Linked DNA regions of Homo sapiens: region 1 is linked to region 2. The links are contacts of gene promoters, found by promoter capture Hi-C in blood cells and fetal thymus (Javierre and others, 2016). All regions are on one chromosome and are shown on one strand. The core of a region is centred on a gene start or on the middle of the fragment in contact, and the rest is flanking DNA. Distances in the headings are between cores, read along the strand shown.

Region 1 (4,768 bases), core at 487-2,986, 520 kb before region 2:
TTCCCTCCTCCAGGGCACATGGCTATGTTCTAGCTTTGCAGTGAATGTTAAAGGTGCTCACAGTGAAACTGGGTGACTAATAGGATATAGCAGCTGGTCACTCAACAACCCTCACAGGACAGCATTGCCTGGGTGAGCCAGCCACAAACCTCATTTGTCATGTATCTCTCTCCCAGGGTCCAAATTCCCTAAATCACCTTTCCTGGGGGGCATGCTTTTCGGGAAGTCCAGCCATCAGCTAAAGGGGAGTTGGGGTCAGCTGGACAGGAAGGTGGGGGATCCACCTTCACTCTTAAGAGCACATCTACCCAGTGACTGACAAAGCTGGGCTCTTACCAGGACACTCTTCGACTCTGCCTGCGGGGGCACTGCTAGAGTTTGCCTCTCAAACTGTCCCTGTGTGGTCCTTCTGTGACTGGCAGGCAACCTGAGTGATAACAGGTGTTTAAGAGACAGGCTTTGGAGTCAGACCTGGGTTCCAGTGCTGCCTCTGCTCTGTGATTTGAGGCAAATTGTTTAACATCTTGGAGCCTTACCTCCCCTGTGACTTTTGAGGATAATATTTTGCCAGTGCTTCCAAAAAGGTTGCTTACAGTCTTAGCCTGGGGGCCAGGCATAACTGTTGTGAACTATTACATTTCTTTCGCAGTTGACTCAAATGATTGTTTTTCCATTTCCAGTTTCTGGGGAGGGTGTGCTCTGCACCTTCTTGTTACCCCCATATGCTGCCCTCGCTAAGGACCTTACCCTAGGCCCATCTGCCAGGCCCAGCAGGTCTGATCTGGCCTCACCAGGCTCCAGCCACCCTGGCTGTCTTGTAGTTCGCACAGAGGTTCTTACCCTTCTCAGGGCTGTTGCTGGGACTGTCCCTTCCCTGAAGTGCAGTTCCTCCCCTTTCCCTGGTGACTCCTGACTCCTGGCATTTACACCTTCAGCTTAAATGCGCCACTTTATCTAAAATGCGCCCCCTTCCTGGTTTCACCTCTGCTTGTTCATTGCCCTTATTATACCTGTAAACTATTCTCTTCCTTTGTTACTTGCTTTTTATTCCCCTCACACTGGGCTTTTAGTAAGCTCCATGAGGTCAGGGGCCATTTGTTAGCGCCTATAAATACTGTGGAATCACTCAAACCCTAGGGCCGGTGGCACCAGGAAGTACTGGATAAGGAACCGCAACACTAACTAACTGGGGCTCAGTGCTCTCTTCCGCCTTCAGTGCCCTGCTCATCAAGGGTCTGGGTGAGGCCCCAGGTCATAAGGAAGCCCTCGCTCGACTGCCCCGGGGCCCATCGCAGCCCCCAACCAGCCCCGAGCGGTCTGATGGTGCCCAGGGAATGGTTTCCAAGGCAATAGCAAACGGGGCGGGGCTTGGAACGGAGGACAAGGCTCGAGCCTAGGCAGGAACTTCCCGGGAGAGGAGGCGGCGACGCGGAGGGGCGCGGGATCAGGGGCCCTGGGAGGGCGAGCGCGGCGAGGGGCGCATGCAGGGCCCCGACGCGCCACTGCTCCTGAGCGCGAGGGAGCTGGGGCCCGGGCGCCGGGGCTCGGCCTCCTGGTACCGCCAGGAGGGCGGCGCGGTGTGCAACTGGCTGCGGAAGCCGCAGCCGCTCGAGCCACGCACCAGTTTCCCCTCGGCGCGCCGCTCCGAGTTCCGTCCACCCAGGAGGCTGCCATGGGCCGGCCCTGCCTCCGCCCAGTCCGAGGAGGGTCACGCAGGCGGCAGATGCCAGGCGGGCAGCCCCGCCCCTGCGCGCCGCCTCAGCGGCGCCTTCAAGACGCTGGTCCCAGGCACCCACGCCCAGGGCGCCTCGGATACCCACCCCCTCGGCCCCCCGCACACCCCGGTCCTCGACCCCTCTCCGCAGGATGGTGAGGCCCGTGCGGCCCGCTCGCTCTGGCCTACAGCGGCTGCGAGGACGACAAGACGCTGGGGTGGAGGGACTGGGGGTCGGGAGAAGAGCGGCTGAGGGTGGGCATCTGGATGAAGGCAGGAGGAAGAAAAGAGGCGTGGCTATGGGCGGCCAGAAAAGATCCTAGGCCGAGACCCTAGGCCCAGCCTCAGTGTACCCCGCCCCTATTCCGCATCTTTCTGCAGGTTTCCCGGTCCTCTGGCGAGGATCCTCCAAGGCGTCTCACATGAACCGGCTCAGAAACGCCAAAATCTACGTGGAGAGAGCTGTCAAGGTCAGAGGAGGGGCAGGGGCGCTTAGAAAGGGCCCTGGGAGCGGCTCAGCCTGTCTCCCTGCGCTGTTTTCTTATATCCTTAAAAAACAAAAGCAAAAGAAAAAACAATAGCAAAAATCCTCAACCACCACACCCATCTTCAACTACCTCCCCGTTTACCCCTTCAGCACCAAACTTCTGGGCTCCCTCCACTCTGGTTCCCTGCGATGTCCCACTCTAATCAAGGTGCCTGGTGAGTTCCAGGGAGCCAAACCCAGCAGTGCCTTTCGGTCTTGATCTCGGTTGGGCACCCTGTATCTTTCGACACCGCTGCCCCACACACCCTTCCTCTTGGCTGTCTGACTGCACGCTCCTAGTTTTCCTTTCTCCCTCTTTGGCTGCTGCTTTTCAGCGGCCTTTAAAGGTTCCTCAGCCATTAGTGGCCCCCTGGCCCCTTCCCCAGGTCTGTCTCCTTTGGCTGTGTCCTTGGCTGAGTCCAGTCAGTGTGCTGCACCCTCTCCGTGCCCCTTCCAGCCCAGCCTCGAACTCCACATCCCGTAGATCTAGCCCCTACCTGTCATCTACACCCAGAAAACTTAACAAGCATTTCAAATTCATGTCCCAAACCAGACTTTGATCTTCCTGCCCAAACCTGTCGTCCTCCCCAGTCTCCAGTCTTTCCCATCTCTCAGTTCCTCACGCCAGAAATCTCATCTTTCTGTTTCTTCACCCACAGGTCTAATTCCATCAGCAAAACCACTTGTCATCTCCACCTCCAAAACGATTCTCAACTCTAGCACCTTCTCCCGTCTGTGTTGTAACCACCTTCATTTTAGTAATTGTGATTTCTCTCCTAGGCAAACTATGACAGCCTCCTAGCTGGTCTACCTCCATCCTGTCCCCTCATCTTTTTGTAATACAGCAGCAAGCCAAGCTTAGAAAGATTCCCTCAGTTAGCCTTTTTTGCTCATGACACTCTTAGTATGAAATCCAAGTCCGTTCCAAGGCCTGCAGGGCCTTCCACAGTCTGGCCACTGCCTACCTCCTCTGGGGCTTTCCCCATCATTTTCCATGTTCCACTCACTCTGGTCTCCCTTCAGTTCCTTCTGACCTCTCTCCAGCCTCAAGGCCTTTGCACATGCATTCCCCTCTGCCTGAACCGCCATTTCCCAGCTCTGTACATTCATGGCTTCCTTTCAACCTTCCCTGACCATGTATTTCTAAGTAGTTTCTCTGGATCCCATTAAGTATGCAGTTTCTGGAGCCAAACTGCCAGGATGTAAATCCCTGCTCTTTTGCTTAACCACTATGGGGCCTCAGGCACCCTGCTTAATTTCTCTATGCCTCTGTTTCATAGCCCGTAAAATGGAGATAACAGTATCTAATAAAAATGCATAGTATTGGCCAGACGCGGTGGCTTACACCTGTAATCCCAGCATTTTGGGAGGCCAAGTCAGGAGGATCACTTGAGGCCAGGAGTTGGAGACCAGCCTGGCCAACACAGTGAAGCCCAGTCTCTACCAAAAAATATAAAAATTATTTGGGCACCAGATGAGGTGGCTGACGCCTGTAATTTCAGCACTTTGGGAGGCCAAGGCGGGCCTTGGCCTGAGGCCAGGAGTTCAAGACCAGCGTGGCCAATATGGTGAAACCCTGTCTCTACTAAAAATACAAAAATTAGCCGGGCGCAGTGGCACACGCCTGTACTCCCAGCTACTGGGGAGGCTGAGGCAGGAGAATCGCTCGAACCCGGGAGGTGGAGGTTGCAGTGAGCCAAGATTGTGCCACTCCAGCCTGGGCAACAGAGCAAGACTCCGTCTCAAAAAAAAAAAATTATCTGGGCGTGGTGGCATACACCTGTAATCCCAGGTACTCAAGGAGACTGAGGCAAGAGAATCGCTTGAACCCAGGAGGAAGAGGGTGCAGTGAGCCGAGATTGTGCCACTACACTTCAGCCTGGGCAACAGAGTGAGACCCTGTCTCAAACAAAACAAAATAAAAACACACAGTATTGTTAGTAATGCATGTAAGTGCTCAGCATGTAGTAGGTCCTCAATAAATATTAGCCATTGCTATTATCATTATTACCATGCATATTTATTTCTCTACTTATTTATAGTCTGTTTATTTCTCCTAATGGAATATAAAAATTTCCTGATGGCAGAGTCCATAACTGTCTGGTTCACCTTTATATCCCCTATGTCTGGCACTTATGCAATACTTATTGAAGAAGTATCCTTCTCTCACATTGCAGCAGAAGAAGATCTTTACAATCCAAGGCTGCTACCCGGTGATCCGGTGTCTCTTGCGCCGGAGGGGCTGGGTGGAGAAGAAGATGGTCCATCGCTCAGGCCCCACCCTGCTGCCACCCCAGAAGGATCTGGATAGCTCAGCGATGGGTGACAGTGACACCACTGAGGATGGTGAGTGGTTCCTTCCCTTTCCACAGCTGTTGCTCCTGAGTCCTTTTCCTTTGGTTCCCACTGTCCCAGAGTTGAGGCCTTATGGGCTATGGGTCAGGGAGAGGAAACTCATCAGCTCTGGGCTCTGCATCCACAGAGGATGAAGATGAGGACGAGGAGTTCCAGCCATCACAGCTGTTCGA
Region 2 (4,181 bases), core at 796-3,295:
GAAAGGAAACTCCAAAAAACACCATGTTCCAAGGCTGCCCCATGTTTTACACGTGCAGATCTTTCCTTCCTTGTAGGAGAGCAGTGGGCTGGCTTTGGTGGCGTTTGTACTGGAATCCAATAAGCACATCTGAGGGCTGGTCACCCCTTTGGTTATGCAGTTCCTCTCCTGGATACATTCAGAGATACTTCTTCACGACATTCAGGTGATGCGCTCTTGAAGGTCCTCCTTCCAGGAGGATTTTGCCAGGTGGGATGGGCTGACTTTGAACCCCAAACCCTCAAGTTTTTCCACCGCCATCCAGATGTAGGCCCTCCCAGTTGACTATGGCTCTTTTCCCGAGTGGCTCTCATCTTGTTTGTGGAAGAGTTCTCTGGGCCTGGAGAAGGGAAGGGGCTGGGCTGACACAGCCATCGTGAGGAGGGTCAGCATGAGGAATGGATTTTGCAAGAGAGGCGGAAAGTGTTTGGTTTTCCTCGAAGCATGGGACATCATCGATCATGGTATTCAAAATGTCTTTTGCACTGTACAAGTTTATGGAAAAAAGATCATATGCTGAAAAGTCTCAAAGCAAACTTTGTATTAAATACAAAAGTTCTTTTATGAAAAACGCTGAGACCCACAAAGTGCTTAGCAGTTAAGAGGCTGACATCCAATTAAATAAGCTCTTATTAAGTGGGATTACTAGTGCTGTTGTCTTGGGGAAAAAATAACCACCTTTTCTCACCTGTGATACTGTAGGGTTTCAGAATGGCTTTCTGTTTGGGAAAGCAAGACTTGCTGTTAAAAGGCTACAGTATATATTGTGACTACAGGAAGACAATTTGGTTTAAAATCACACTGAGTACATCTCAATATACACATCATAAGGTTCATTCGGATCTAAATAGTGCAGAGAAAAAGGCTATTCTTCTTCAAAAATAAAAATAAAAGCAGCAAGCCATACTGATCCTCATCCAATATGCCAACAGCTCAGATGCTGCCATTAATAAGGAAACAAACCTGTAAGTTACTAAATAAAAAAAAAAATCAACACAATACCATTTATAATATTTCAACACTACCTCAATCTCTGTACAGACAGTGCCAAAGAGAACCTATTTTTGAAATGCTCTTAGTAAACTCAAGCGAGTTTCATTGAGAGAAAAGTCTTCGAGCAGTGCTTTGCAGATCCTGGCATCCTTGGGCCGGATGGCCGTTAGTGTTGCAAACCCAGGAAGCCTTCTCTCCTCCTCTCCCTTCGTCTACGGAGCATGTTGTTAAACCCCTCAGGATGGCAACTCGGTAGCATTTGGCTTCTGCCTGAGCCTCTCACGGTAGTGACATTATTGAACGGAAATAGCAGGCAAAAATCAGAGCATGGCTATCATAAAACATCCAGGATGCAACCCAGGGGAAGTGTCTGTTGGGCCGAGCTGTTTTTATAGCATCTCAGCCACCAGTGTTCTTAAACCATACAAATAGCCAAAGACGTTATCTACAGGTTTGTAAACAAATTACATTCTTCTTTTAGGACATAAATAAGTTAAAATAGAGCAATTTAAGCGGAAACAAGGCAACATGCCGGCAAAGAAACTTTATATATCCATGTATATATATTTATATATATATATATATATCTACCTATCTATATGGACGTATACAGTCTCGGAAAAGTATACGTTGATATAGATACAAAGAAATGGATATAACCTTGTGAGTGTCTATGAAGTTCTTCGGTTCCATTGGTGCAAATCTACTAGGCGAGTTAAGCTCTGCAATTTCAAAAAGTTATTAAATTAATCTATACAACTGAGACCATGCTGTGCAAGCATTTCAAAAACTCACAGACCAGTGGATTGGATAAATAGTCTCAGAAAAGAGTCTGTTTGCAGTTCCCGCCTAAGAAAACAAACAAACAAACAAAAACCCCTCCCCAACCCCCAAAAACCAAACAAGGGGAGGATTGAAAGTGTACAGTACATTCATGCGGGGGACGTGGTGGCTGGGCGGGTGCATGGCTGGTCCATGTCTGGGTGGGAGCCAGGAAGGGCTTGTTTTGGGAAAACCGCTCACTCCCGTAAGCCCCCAGTGGAGATCCCGCCCCTTGCCTTGAAGTGAAAAAGAGTTCAAACAGCATCGCAGCCAGAGAAAGGGTCTGTGGGTGGAAACGTTGGTTTTCTCTCCAGTATTTGGTTTCCGATTGTTGCTCGTTGCTGCTTGGGTGAGTTGGGTGCCTGGATGGATGGGTGCCCGGAAAGCGGGTGGCAGCGGGGTCCATGAGGGCGGGCGGGCAGGCGAGAGGGTCCTCAGCTAAAGCGACGTCTCCAGGCTGTGGATGGGGCTCCCTGGACTTGAAGAGGTAGCTGATTTGCTTGTGTCGGTCGTCAGGTTGATCCCACTGTCGATGGCGCTGTTGTTCTTGTTGAGGGATGACGGCGGGCTCGAGTTCTGCTTGAGCGCGGCATCTTCTTCCAGGTCGGTGTCATCAATGAGGGGGATGTGGGGCTGGGAATCTTCGATCCGGAATTCAGGATGAGCCATGAAGTTATGGATGGAGGTTCGAGATTCAGGCTTTTCTAAACCTTCATAGAGAGAGCTACGGAACGCCTTCACGACGCGGATCTGCAAGGGAAGCACAGGGGTCAGGAGCACTGCCCAGGGACCACAGCCAGGCTCGGGGGGCTCACAGGAGGGGCGGGTGGGAGAAGGGTTAGGGCAAAGCAGGTGGCTGGAATCCATAGTCGCTGGGTGTTATTAGCATTGACAGGATGGGGGAGAGTGAAAAAGGGGGCTCAGGTTATAGGCATCCTTGAGCTGGTTTTTAAAAATCTCTTTGGTTTTGGTAGAAACTAGTGTTAGGACAGGAGGAATCACCAAGCACCATCAAAGAGATGATGGGGAACAGTGGTTAAAGGAAGCACAGTCGACTCCTGCGGGCACCCACACCTAGTGAGAGACTGAGCCTTGTTCACTTTAAAGCAGAGGTTCAACCATGCAGACAGGGAGGAGGACCAGGTGGGAATCAAGTAGGAAAGAGGAGAGGCTATTAAAAAAATTCATCTTAGGAAAACCACACACAGTTAAGAAACCATACAACATGGAACATGTTACGTGTCACAAACAGAAAAGGCACAGAAAGGAGAGACGGTTGGATGAGTTGGGATGAGAGAGACACATGAGGGCCAAACAGAACGGGAACATCAAACCAAAGGCAGCAAAGCAAACCAAAGCCAACCCAGGGCTTTCTGAGGTGCAGAGCAGAGGCAGCCAGAAAGCACATGGGAGCTGGCGGACAGATGACATTCGGGGGCGGGCTGCATGCCACGGGGAGGCCGGGAGCCACATGGCACACACAGACAGACACACGGCTACACTTGGAAGCCTGGACAATGTGAACGGAGGTCGTTTGTACCCAGCGTTTCTTTCCTTCATGCATTTGGGAGGTAAACACTCGAGTATAGACTCAAAGCCCTGGCCGGCCAGTTATTGGAGCTTGCTTTGGGGTCTCTTATTTCCTGGGGGATTTTGTTTATTTCTTTATTTGTGCTTTGAAAACACAAAACCAAAAAACGAGGCTGGAATCAGATGGCCAAACCCAGCCCCAGTGGGATTCTGGGGTGTGTGGAACTGAGTCACAAAACAGCAAGTTCTTTCATTTTCTGTCTCAGTTGTGAACCACACGTCCTGGGGCCTCAGTTTCCTCCGCTGAAGAATGGGAGGAGGCTGGTCATTGAGTCTTCAAGGCTAGTGGAAAGAGCACTGGACTTGGAGGCAGAAAGACCCAACTTGCATCCTGGCTCTGCCACATCTGGTGCCTTGACTGTGGACAAGCCACACTAGCTCTCTGGTTGTCCTCTGTCCTGCCTCACAGGGTGCAGAGGGACGGGACCCTCACTTGGAAGAGAGGTGTCCCTTCTCTGGACTCCTGGGAGGGGCAGCAGTGCCTGTCATCTCAAGAGTCTGATGGGACTTGGGACAAAGGTGCCTCCTCCTCTCGTCCCAGCCCCAACTCGGAGTGGAGTCAGAGGTGGAGAAAACAAGGCGGCGTTGGCGCCTCCAGGACAGAGCCTTAGTCGGCTGCTGTGTGCAGGCCAAGTGGCACCCACCTGCAGAGCAGTGGCTGCCCTGCACCACAGGCCTGCGGGGAGGCAGGGGACTGGACGAGACGGTCGTGGGGAGGCCCCTGAAGTCCCAGGACT

Evidence for each region. Contacts are between HindIII fragments. The CHiCAGO score rates a contact against its expected background, and 5 or more counts as called.
Region 1: a contact is called between the fragment with the promoter of TTLL3 here and a fragment that was not itself captured in region 2, in 8 of 17 cell types (erythroblasts, fetal thymus, total CD4 T cells and 5 more). The highest score is 7.8, in erythroblasts.

Annotation. Positions count from the first base shown.
Region 1 is chr3:9,808,526-9,813,293 of GRCh38, forward strand. It overlaps TTLL3 (tubulin tyrosine ligase like 3), which reads left to right and starts at 1,737. Exons shown (of 14, transcript NM_001387446.1): 1 at 1,737-1,869; 2 at 2,096-2,184; 3 at 4,418-4,586; 4 at 4,723-4,768. The coding sequence starts at 2,137. It overlaps ARPC4-TTLL3 (ARPC4-TTLL3 readthrough), which reads left to right. Exons shown (of 12, transcript NM_001198793.1): 5 at 4,418-4,586; 6 at 4,723-4,768. RefSeq lists an enhancer at 809-958 and a silencer at 1,439-1,918. The HindIII fragment of the contact is 3,571 bases long and covers 1-3,095 here.
Region 2 is chr3:10,326,522-10,330,702 of GRCh38, forward strand. ATP2B2 (ATPase plasma membrane Ca2+ transporting 2) reads right to left here. Exons shown (of 23, transcript NM_001001331.4): 23 at 1-2,604. The coding sequence ends at 2,293. It overlaps MIR378B (microRNA 378b), which reads left to right and starts at 3,708; the gene lies at 3,708-3,764. RefSeq lists an enhancer at 1,763-2,311. The HindIII fragment of the contact is 4,701 bases long and covers 1-4,181 here.